Linked DNA regions of Homo sapiens: region 1 is linked to region 2. Evidence: promoter capture Hi-C in human tissues and cell types (Jung and others, 2019). All regions are on one chromosome and are shown on one strand. Each heading gives the region's core, a stretch centred on a gene start or on the middle of the fragment in contact. The rest is flanking DNA. Distances are from core to core; before and after follow the strand shown. Region 1 overlaps UBASH3B (ubiquitin associated and SH3 domain containing B). Region 2 holds the start of CLMP (CXADR like cell adhesion molecule).

Region 1 (5,967 bases), core at 685-3,184, 390 kb before region 2:
ATAGGGCTGGGCACGGTGGCTCACGCCTATAATCCCAGCACTCTGGGAGGCCGAGGCAGGTGGATCGTGAGGTCAGGAGATCAAGACCAGCCTGTCCAACATGGTGAAACCCCGTCTCTACTAAAAATACAAAAATTAGCTGGGCGTGGTGGCACACGCCTGTAGTCCCAGCTACTAAGGAGGCTGAGGCAGGAGAATCGCTTGAACCCAGGAGGCGGAGGTTGCAGTGAGCCAAGATTATGCCACTGCACTCCAGCCTGGTGACAGAGTGAGACTCTGTCTGAAAAAAAAAAAAAAAAAAAAAAAGAATTAATAATAATATAGTTACCTTAACTATCAAAAGTCTACTCAGGTATTTGTAAAAATCTCTTTGAGAAGGAACAGATAGTCACAACCATTATAATGGGGAATTAAGTTCATATTTCTTAAGGCAGAGTTTGTAACAAGTGGTCAATATAAGCAGAACTTTCTTATGTGATATCTGTTGACCTTTCATTTTAAATACCTACCCAAACCACATTAAAGCAATGTGCATTTCTGGCTAAGGTAATAGACAATATATTCTTTTTCCATACTCATTTTTTCTGTTCAGCAAATAAGACCTCGGATAACCCCATTAACTAGTTATGTGCTGCTGCTGCTGCTTGTCTTAAAGGAATTAGCATTCCTCAAAAACAAAATTAGATCAATCAACAGGATCCCCTATGAATACACTTCACATTTTGTTCTATCCCCTCTCTGGCCACTGGTTTTCTGTTCTTTGCAGGGAATTAGCAATAAATTGTTGTCCCCCATGCAGCAGCCAGCATCCCTTTGGCCTGGAAAGAGGAGGAGTTGCCACCAACATTGGTTAAGTGACTTTCACCATTTACCACCAGCCCCACCCAGACCAATTTAGGTCAACTATGTATTTTATATTTCCTCTAGATGTGTTTTGCCATTGCCTCCCAAGCGGCCTTACAAAGGTCTCCAGAATCGTCCTACCTGAGCCTGTCAATGTACACTCAGATACACACCCCACCAGCAGTGTGAGCAGAAGGATGAATGCCAGGAGCCTGGGGATCAGGACACAGTCCTTATTCCAGATTGCCTTTTCCTCTCCGGCAAATCAGAATTCAATTCAACCATTTTCTGTTTGGCGAGGGAGTTGGGGTAGGAGATGAAGCCTCTAATTTGAAAAATCAGTTGAGAAAGCCAAAGTTGAAGCATGTGAAAGGGACAGCCCCGGAGTTTAATTCCCTATGAAATTAATGATGCCAAATGGACAAGCCTTTGGAAGCAAGGAAGTGGTGCCCAGATGATTGAAGACATGTGGTGACAGGCAGAAAGGGAAGCCCTGAGAGCCGGGGTAGTGTGAATCAGGCAGGCTCTGCTGAAAGAGCCCTCTCACCTTGCAACAGGGGTAGGAAGAGAACAGGAGGGAGGTGGGACTGAAAGCCGAGTTAGGGAAGCTAACCAGGCTGGTGACTAATATTGAAGCATCATCCACAGGCAGCAAGACCAGCCCAGGGCCTGGGGGGGTTGAAAACAACCCCAGCCTTGAGGAGCTGGGCCAGAGGAGCAAGGCAGAAAAAACAAAATCCACACCAGCTGGGTGGGGCTTCAGAACAGAGCCCTGACTCAGAGGACAGGGGACTGGGGGAGGGTATGGATCTGGAGTGTTGGAGGGGAAACAAATCAAACTTTGGCATGAGGCTCAAAGCAGAGGCCTGTGCTTACAACCTGGACCACAGCAAGGTGGGGAGCAGAGAGTATATGGGGGAGGATACAGTTTCGGGGATGCCACCTGACTTCCAGAGCACCGTATTCCAGGTTGAGTGGGTGGGGGGAAGGCCACCTGACTCTGAGGACAGTACAGGGCCTGCAGGTGTGGCTAGCAGCATGACGTGACCTGCTGACAAGGGTGAGGAAGCTTTGACTCAGGCCAAGCCCATCAGGACTCCAGACACTGGAGTCATTCACAGGCTCCACTTTAAGGTGCTGGGAGAAGCCATAGGCAAGAACTGATCAGGACGAACCAGATCCCAGCATGTATCCCGCTCTTCACCTACATAAATCTCACACATTACATGGTCTCACACTTGAAATGACTCCCTGGGCCATACAAAGTGGACTTTTGTCACTGTGGGCAGGGGATGGGCCTGGGAGATGAGGTGACATAAATGGTGATGGAACTGGGTGAGAGGTGGGGATGGGGACAGAAAAAGAGGAGAAAGCTTGCTCCAGAACAATGAGGTACAGCCCCAACAAGTGGTGATTCAGGTCTCTACCTATCCCCCAGGGTGTTGTGAGACTCAGAAGGCTGTTTCCTAGGAGAAACAGGCATGCTGAGAGAATGCAGGATATGGGCAAGTTTCCTTCAAGTGGAACGGCATCCTTCCCCTGGACAGTAAGCCGGTGTGCACAGAAGGCCAGGCTTAGCAAGGGCACTGTCAGAAGCTGTGTGTAGAGGATCGGCTCACAGGCCAGACTCCAGACTCAGATTCAAATCCAGATTCTAAGAGTTGCTAACGGTGTTAGCATAGGGAAGTCAGCTGCAGCCTTTCTGAGCTTCTGTTTTGTCATCCATAAACAGCATTTATGAAAGCATTGCTGGGAGGATTAGACCGAAGAAATGCAAGCAGGACACTCGCACAGAGCCTGACACATATGGGAACCTCAGTAAATATTTTCAGTGCTAATAGTAGTGGTAATAGCCTACTTCTGATCAAGAGGCCATGTGAATTCATTTTGAGAACTTACCACACCTCCACCAGGCACTAAACACCCAGCAGTGAAAGACAAAATATGAAAATTGACAAAATAAGAAAATTGAAATGACATAGTTGTACCCAGAAAACAAGATAAACATCTTGTGGACCAGAAACAACATAGAAACTCTACATAGTTAAGCGGGGGTGGAGGCAGGCAGAGGCAGGCCCCAAGGGCATTGGTGACTGGGTTTGAAGACATGCAGGGGCACCGGGACAGGAAGCCTAGCTTTGATCATCCTCTTCCATGCTGTGTTAGTTCGTTTTCACGCTGCTGACAAAGACATACCTGGGACTGGGCAATTTACAAAAGAAAGAGGTTTAACTGGACTTATAGTTACATGTGACTGGGGAAGCCTCACAATCATGGCGGAAGGCAAGGAGAAGCAAGTCACGTCTTAACATGGATTGCAGCAGGCAAAGAGAGAGCTTGTGCAGGGAACTCCCCTTTTTAAAACGGTCAGATTGGCTGGGTGCAGTGGCTCATGCCTGTAATCCCAGCACTTTGGGAGGCCGAGGTGGGCGGATCATCTGAGGTCAGGAGTTCAAGACCAGCCTGGCCAACATGGTGAAACCCTGTCTCTACTAAAAACAATACAAAATTAGCCGGGTGTGGTGGCGCATGCCTCTAATCCCAGCTACTTGGGAGGCTGAGGCAGGAGAATTGCTTGAACTCAGGAGGCGGAGGTTGCAGTGAGTCGAGATCGAGCCATTGCACTCCGGCCTGGGCAACAAGAGTGAAACTCAATCTCAAAAATAAAACAACAACAACAACAAAAAACAAATAACAAAAAATAAATAAATAAAAATTTTAAAAAATAAACCATCAGATCTTGTGAGACTTATTCACTATCACGAGAACAGCACAGGAAAGACCTGCCCCCATGATTCAATTATCTCCCACCAAGTCCCTCCCACAACATGTGGAAATTCAGGATGAGATTTGGGTGGGGGGCACAGCCAGGCCCCCAGGCCGGTGAGGGACACACAGTATCACATGCCTTTGTAGATTGTATAGTAATTATCATTTACATCAATAACCTCTTCACCCCAACCACAGGCAGAGAACTTTTCCAACACAGAAATTGAGTGGTCTTCATCTTTATGCTTTGCACTTCTCCTTGTGCCAAGTGTATGGTCTGTGTTCAAAATAAGAGAGAATTAAAGGAAAAGACTGGTGAAATTTGATAAACTCGCAAAGAATCAGATGGACCTAATATCTGCGTTTAAAACCCATCCTTGCTGCTCTTGAAGAGAGGTCTGGGAAATCCCTGCTGATCTAAATAGGTTGAGGGTTCCATCTCTGCTTTGTTTTGTATTAGCTATGTGACTAGGACCATCCATCAATGGCTTATTTGTTATCCCGAGAGTGAAACATGCACTGAATGTCTCATTTTTCACCTGGTCACTGTAACGCCATACACATAGCTGTTATTTCTGTACATTTCCACTCCATGTTCATATAGTAGAAATGCTGTTCCCTATACCTTTCTCCTTTCTAGGGAAATGGATAAACAAACAGATCTACGGGATCTTTAGAAATGCCTTGAAATAAAAGTTTAGAGTGATATCTTCCTTTGTCTCAAGATCAAAATGTTTTCATTTCCTTTGTTCATTTTTCTATTACAGACCTCACATTCCAATCAGCAAATTAGTTGTTTCAGAATCCTATGATACTTATATCAGTAGAAGTTTCCAAGTAACAAAAGAAATAATAAGTGAATGTAAAAGTAAAGGTAAGTGGTATTATTCTGAACTCCATCTGTACATACGTGATTATTTCTCTATAATGGTTAATAGGTTATTCAAGATGTTTCAACTTGCTTTGGCTAACCAAAGAAATGTATTTCCAGATTTTCTTCCAGATACTTTTACATTAAATTTGTAATATTCTCTGAGTTCCTAAAATGGTAGATATTCCAGGGGTTTATACCAGACTTAGTTACTATTCTTAATAACTTAAATTCTGCGTTATAGCTATTCTTCTTGCACCCTGTGAAAGAGATTCCCTCTTATAATTTCCAAAAGCTCTAGCATGCCACTGTTTTGCCTATAATTGATGCAGCGGCATGCACACCTACACACAGCACACCTACACAAACACATACACCTTCCCTGCTATCACCAACCAAGAGCAGTGTTGTATAAGGCTCAAGTGTGTTTGCTATTGAATTTTCTAAACACTGAGCTCAAATATTTAATATGTAAGACTGTTCACTATCAATTTTTTAGTGAAAAAGGCATATTGCAAAAAAAGTATGGACATTCCCTTCATCTCTTTTTTTAAGTTAAAATACTTATATTCAAACAGTAGGCAGCCATGAGCAACAGTATTATGAATGATTCCCACCTTCCAGTTTTCATTGATTAGCCACTCACTACCATAAAGGTACACAACATGTTCTATCAACCAGGAAGTCTCAAGTGCTCATAGTTCTATAGTGGGAACACTTAAAACTATGTTAGAAGGAGTTGCACAGACAGCCCTATGGACACACAACAGTCCTGTATCTTGATTGTCATGGTGTTACAAAAAGCTACACATATGATAGAATTGCATGAACTGTATCGTCACATATGCACAAACGACTTCTTGCACACCTGCTAAAATCTGAATACGCTGTGTGTATTGTACCAGCGTCCATTTCCTGGGTTTGATACTGTACCATAGTTATGTAAGATGTTACCATTGGAGGGGGATGGGATGAAGGGTTCATGGGATCTTGTCGGTATGTATGTATATGTATGTAACCCTCCCATAAATCCATAATTATTATTATTATTTTTGAGACAGGGTCTTGCTCCTGACACTCAGGCTGGAGCGCAGTGATGCAATCATGGCTCACTATAGCCTCAATCTCCTGGGCTCAAGTGATCCTCCCACATCAGCCTCCCAAGTAGCTGGGACTGCAGGCACAGGCCACCACACCCAGCTAATTTTTTAAAAATTTTCTATAGGGACAGGGTCTCACTATGTTGCTCAGGCTGGTCTCAAACTCCTGAACTCAAGTGGTCCTCCCTCCTCGTTCTCTCAAAATTACTGGGATTACAGGGATGAGCCACCACACCCGGCCCCATAAATCTGTAACTATTTTAAGATAAATGTTTTCTTTAAAAAGATTAAGCTGCCTTATCAGTAACAAAGCACTTTCAAAATATTGCTTAGGCAAATTGTCTTCTTGAGTGTGTTTGCTCCCCTGCAGAGCATTTAGTTAGC
Region 2 (5,404 bases), core at 2,817-5,316:
TTTCCTCCAGTTCTGGCAATCTTTGACTCTACCTTTAAAAAATATCCATCATCACTAGATGCATTCATGAAATAATACTCATGTGTACCCTGCCCAGATAAGCACAAGACAAAAATAGGATATGACTAGATATAAGCCTACAGGGAATATATCGTTATTATGACCATCACCATTAAAGTGGGAAGATAAGGGTAGGACATGGAATCCTACTGAGACCTGTCGTTATCTTACAGACCAATGGACTATGCATTCATGCCTTCTTCAAACTCACTTTCTGCGAAACCAGGCTCCTTCCCCGTGCTGGCAGAAGTTTCAACAGGTAAGTCTATTTTTAATCTGGTACTAGCACACACGATATACAAAATAAATTTGTATGACAAATATATTATCTGGTCCCTATCCCTGTAATGTTCTTTGTGAATTTTTTAAAAATAGGACTGGTCCTATTTGCATTAATAGACAAGGAAGCTCAAAGCAAGCTGAATTAAAACTGGGCTCCTCACTATTGGGTTATCCCGCAGTCAAAGGTTAGTGATCTTCCAAATTTTTCACCTCTCTTGACCTTAAAGATTTCAAATACTTCAAAAATCCAATTATCTCTTAACAAATAGTTCACAAGTGTTTATGCAAGGTACTGAACATGGTTCACAGGTGAATGAGACACTGTCCCTGCCTTCATGGAGCTTCCATTCTAATGGGGTGTTAGATAAGCATTTGGAACACCATAATACAAAGTAGCATAAGAGGAAGGCTATTGGGATTCAAAGGTCAAATAGACTACTCAAAAGAAAAAAAGTATATTCAGCTGGTGAAACCATGGACAGGTGTATGGAGGAAGTGGCATTTGAGGTGAGACTTGGGGAATGAACATGATTTTGATCTGCAGTGGCAGGAAATAAGGAGGCAGTTTTGGTGGGGGGATTATCATAAACAAAAGCATAGAATTAGAAAGAAGCATGGGACATGTTTTGGGCGCATGAAGTAATTCAGGTTCCCTACCGAGTATCTGGGGGTGAGTAGAGGAAGAGCTGTGAATGACATTATGTAAAGTCTTTGATGTCAGAATGAAGTGTTTATACTCAACACTAAAAGCAATGAGACTACTAAAGGTTTTTGGAAGAAGGGAGAAAAACCATAGAATTATAGAAATTTTGAATTGAACATTCCCCTACCCCTATGCCCATTGTACAGACAAGGGAGTCAGAATAAGAACCAGAGAGGTTGCCAGACTCTTAAGTTCCAGCTTCGTGCATTCTACCAGCGGCCTCACAGGGTTACTCGGGTAGCAGTGTGCAGGATGGAGGAGAGAGGACAGGCAGGACAGGAACGTGGCAGCTACTATAGTCATCCAGGAGAGAAGTTAAGGTGGCACAATGAGGGCCGGAACGTTACGGGAGTGAGGCAGGATAGTGGGTCAGAAGAGGGGCTGAGCTGGAGCTCCTTCTCTCTTCTCCATGGGGCTCAGAGCACTTCTTATTCATTCACATCAGAGAGGTGGGTTATTTGACCTCACTCATTGGCAGGTCCAGGAAACATGGAGTCAACTGTCCCACAGTTCAGACGATGAACACTCTCCACCCTCCCAGCCCCTGTTTGATACTGTGCAATCTTTAGAAAAAGAGAAGCCAAAAACCATGCCAGCCAGGATCAGAAGCAGCCCTGGAACTGCCCCTTTAAAGGACCAGTATGATGATTTCAGGATTCAGACAACTTGCTGTGTTTTCTTTCTGCCTTTGCTGAACAGTGTCCGAGCATTCCATGGCTCCAAACCATTTCTTAAATAAGGACAGGTGCTCAAAAAGTGCAAATTTTTTTTCCCTTTCCCAGACCTCTCTCCTATAGGTCACGCTGACATCTTACATTCCATGAAGAGGATGGTGAGATCGAAGAGCCAGCCAGGTGTGGCAGAGGGTAAGCGCTTTGAGAATCTCTGCAGCCACAGGAGGCTGTAAAGCAATGCGCTTTAGCAAGCTTTCTCTGGAAGCAGGCAGCCTGCGCTCAAATTCCGTCTCCCCTAATTATGAGTGTGTGGCCTTGAGCAAGTTACCTGGCCTTTTTACAGCTTGGTTTCTTCATCTGTAAAATGAGGGTAGCCAACAAGGATGGCTGGGCAGCCAATAGGCTTGTTGTGAAGAACAAACGAATTACCAAGATAGTACATATAAAGTGTTCATATAACAAGGACTATTAGCTGTTTTTAATAAGAGAGCCCTGAAGTTTCATTCTACTAAATATCTGGTGATTGGTAACCTAGTGGTAGAGTCCAGTAAAGGGAATCAAGGTGCCATCCAGCTGCGCCAGATGTGCACAGGAACAGTATTGCAGTATTTGGTTAAGTCTAAAAGAGTTTAGAAAATAACCCCTCCCCACCTGCCTTACTTGAGCAATAGTTTGGCTTAGCCCACCTCTTTCATTTCTCTAACTTAAGTGATTATCAGCCTGAGGCTGGCCAAGATGGGTATGCATACAGTATAATTGGTTTGTAAAGTTTCAAAAAAGACAGAGAACTCTAACCACGTATTTCAGGATTTGGTGGTTCTTCTAGACACCAGCCTCCTTCAAACCTCTGGTGTTGTAGGCTAGAAGGGACTTAGGAACCATCTAGTATTCTCTTTCCAGAGCTAAAGACGTGGAAGCCCTGGATAAGGAGTAAGTTGTCTGAGGCCACCCAGCTAGTCAGTTCAAAACCAGGACCAGCTCTCCCGTGGCCTGGTGTTCAGGGTAGTGCTCACTCTTGACCACTGGCTGGCTCTTTGATTTTCTGATCTCCAGCTAACTGTGGGGCCTGTCTGCAGTGGATCCCATGCTTCAGGGTGCATAGTGACGTGCCCTTGGCTCTCCCTGACTGCCTTTCCTGCCCTGGCTCCTCAGACATTTCCAGTCACTCCGGTGGGCTCCTACCACCCACATCCCTGATGTCCTCTCCTGCAAACCTGCCTCTGCCTCAGGGCCTCTGAGGCCCCAAGAGTCCTGCCTGGGGGACCCCAGGAAGGGACGCTCAGGAGGACTCTTCCCTTTGCTCTGGAGCCTGTTTCAGGAAAAAGTGGTGCTTGCTCTATTTCCCTCTGTTCTGGTTCCTCTGCTGCGTTTTTTCCAAGTCTTCTTCACTCTCTGTGCTCGGACTCCCCCAGCCTTGCTCTTCTGTTTTACATTCCTGTTCTCCTCTTTTTCTCTCTCCTTCCCAACCCTTCCCCTTTCCCCTTTTCCTTCCTTCCCTGTGTGACTTGGGGCATTTGCATCTTCCTGGTGCTCCTTGGGCCCTGCCCTTTTTCCCTCTCCCCTTTCCTCTCCAACCCTGCCTATCCCCCACTCTGCTCACCCTTTAACACATCTGTTTCTAATCTGAGCCTCGGAGGCGCCTGTTTGAAACAACAACAAAAAACCCCCACCCTCAGGAACCTGGCACAAAAATTCCTGGATAAACCTTCCCTCCACCAATTCTCCACTTTTCCCAGATACACCAGAAACTAAACACCGCCCTAAAGAGGACCCTGCACATCAAACGGTTCCCCAAGCCTGTTCAAGGGCCCAGATGTGCGAGACAATCTCGATGGCCGACTGGGCGGCCCTCGGTTGCCAGATGTGCTCCTCCGTGGCCAGGAGGCAGGGACTGAAAAGCCGGCTGACTCCAGGGGCTGCAGGGACACCCGGTCAGAACCGGCGTCTTTCCCGGACGCAGGGCTGCGTTTGCCCACGGCCATCCAAACTCCCGCCCTCCCAGAGGCACTCACCTAGCAAGAGGAGAAGGAGGAGGGACATCCCGATCCCCGGACGCGGGCGCTTCCCCGCTCAGCTGCTGCTTGGCTCCGGGGCGGCCGGGCGCCTCCGACGGACCTCGGGCGAGCTGGGCGCGGCGCCTCGGGGTGCGCGCGAGGTGGCTGCAGCCATGTGCCGGGCGGGAGCCGGCCCCGCGCCCCGTGCCCCTGGGGGCAGATGGGCTCCCGGCGCTCGCCCCACCAGCTGGCGCCCGGACGGGAGCCGGGACCAGGGTCAGGGAGGAAAACGCGAGGCGAAAAGGCGCTACCGCTTCGTGGAACACTTTTCCCTGTTTGGAAAGAAAAAGGAGTGAAGAAAGAGAGAGGGAAAAAAAAAATTCAGCTGGAACCACATGGTTGCCTCCTACCGCAGCCCCTCCCTCTCTCTCTCGCTGTTCCCTCCTTCCCTCCCTCCCTCCCGCGCGGCGTTTGGGGTTTGCGGTGGGGGCCGGTCGGGGAGAAGCGTGAGCTGGCCGGGCAGGGAGGGCCGGGGGAGACCTGGGGCCGTGCAGAGGCGGGTGGGTTGAGAGGCGCCGGGCGTAGGATTGATTCTTTGCAGGAGGCATTGGTGACACCTCGGCTGAGAGCCCATGGACGAGGCCTTGTCCGTTCCTAGAGCTCTGCTCTCACTTGGTCCTTCTCTCCACTTCTCTCTCGCTTCTTTTTTACTCTCGTTTCTCTCTGCTTCCACGTCTCTCACAAATCTGGCGTTTCTCTCTTCCATCTCTTCCTCTCTAGGTCTCCTTGTTCGCATTCTTGCCTCTCCCTCCTCGTCTCCTCATGCCCTCTCCCCTCTGTCCTCTGCGCTCTTCTCGCCTCTCCTCTCCCTCCCCGTCTGGTTCTGTTAGTGTAAAGCCACCAGACTGACCAGGCCGACGGCGGGGCGCGGAAGTGGGTGCGAAGGCAGCCAGCGGCCGGCCGACCAGGGCTCTCCCCACCGACTGCCTGCTTTGGCACCCGGCTACCCCCCTTGGCCTGGCTTTCCTGGGGCCTTTCGCGTTCGCTCGCTTTCTACTGTCGGTATTTGCAGCAGCGCTCCCTCAGGTCCCGAGCAGAGCTAAGCCAGCCAGCACCCAGGGGAAGGGGACCCACAGCCCCGTGGAAAGAGGTCTATCGAGATGCTTTGCAGCAAAGTGCTCTGCACGTGGCCCTGGCCAAAATGTGCACCACCCCCTTTCAGAAAGAACATAAGGCAGAGGGAGCAGAATCCCCCTGGTGCCAGGGCCTGCGCGCCCGGGCTCCGGGAACCCGGCCCAGGAGGCTCGCGGAGGGCAGGAGGCTGGCGGCCGGACGGGGGCGGACGGTGGGTTCCGCGGAGCCGAGCAGCCCCGCCCCAGGGTCGGCCCCTGGGAGTCTGCCCTTCACTACCCTGCTGCTCAGCGGCAGCGGGAGGCAGCGAGACTAAGAAAGGGCAGTGAGGGTGGCGCTCAGACCTCAGCTGCCTGGACCTCCTGCCCTGACCTTGTGCCCAGGGCCTCTCAGAAACTCTGGTCCCAGTCTCTGAATGTCCCTGGAGGGCTTCTCCCTCAGCTGCCCAGAGGCATGATGACGCAATCGCTCACCTTCGGCCTCGCCAGAGCCCAGGTTGGAAGCCGGGGCCAGCGCTCTTGAGAAGAAAGATGAACCCCGCCGGGGCCGGTGGGCTGCCG

The links. The method cuts DNA at HindIII sites, captures the fragments that hold promoters and counts their contacts. A contact is called where the count stands out against the background at its distance.
Region 1: a fragment that was not itself captured here is called in contact with the fragment with the promoter of CLMP in region 2 in 1 of the 25 tissues and cell types used here (IMR-90 fibroblasts).

Annotation. Positions count from the first base shown.
Region 1 is chr11:122,802,031-122,807,997 of GRCh38, forward strand. UBASH3B (ubiquitin associated and SH3 domain containing B) reads left to right here. Exons shown (of 14, transcript NM_032873.5): 12 at 4,380-4,486. Among named protein-coding and RNA genes, the nearest start is that of CRTAM, 33 kb to the right of the region's middle. RefSeq lists enhancers at 1,240-1,982, 2,786-3,304. The HindIII fragment of the contact is 4,850 bases long and covers 1-4,359 here.
Region 2 is chr11:123,191,182-123,196,585 of GRCh38, forward strand. It overlaps CLMP (CXADR like cell adhesion molecule), which reads right to left and starts at 4,067. Exons shown (of 7, transcript NM_024769.5): 1 at 3,732-4,067. The coding sequence starts at 3,759. The HindIII fragment of the contact is 11,250 bases long and covers 806-5,404 here.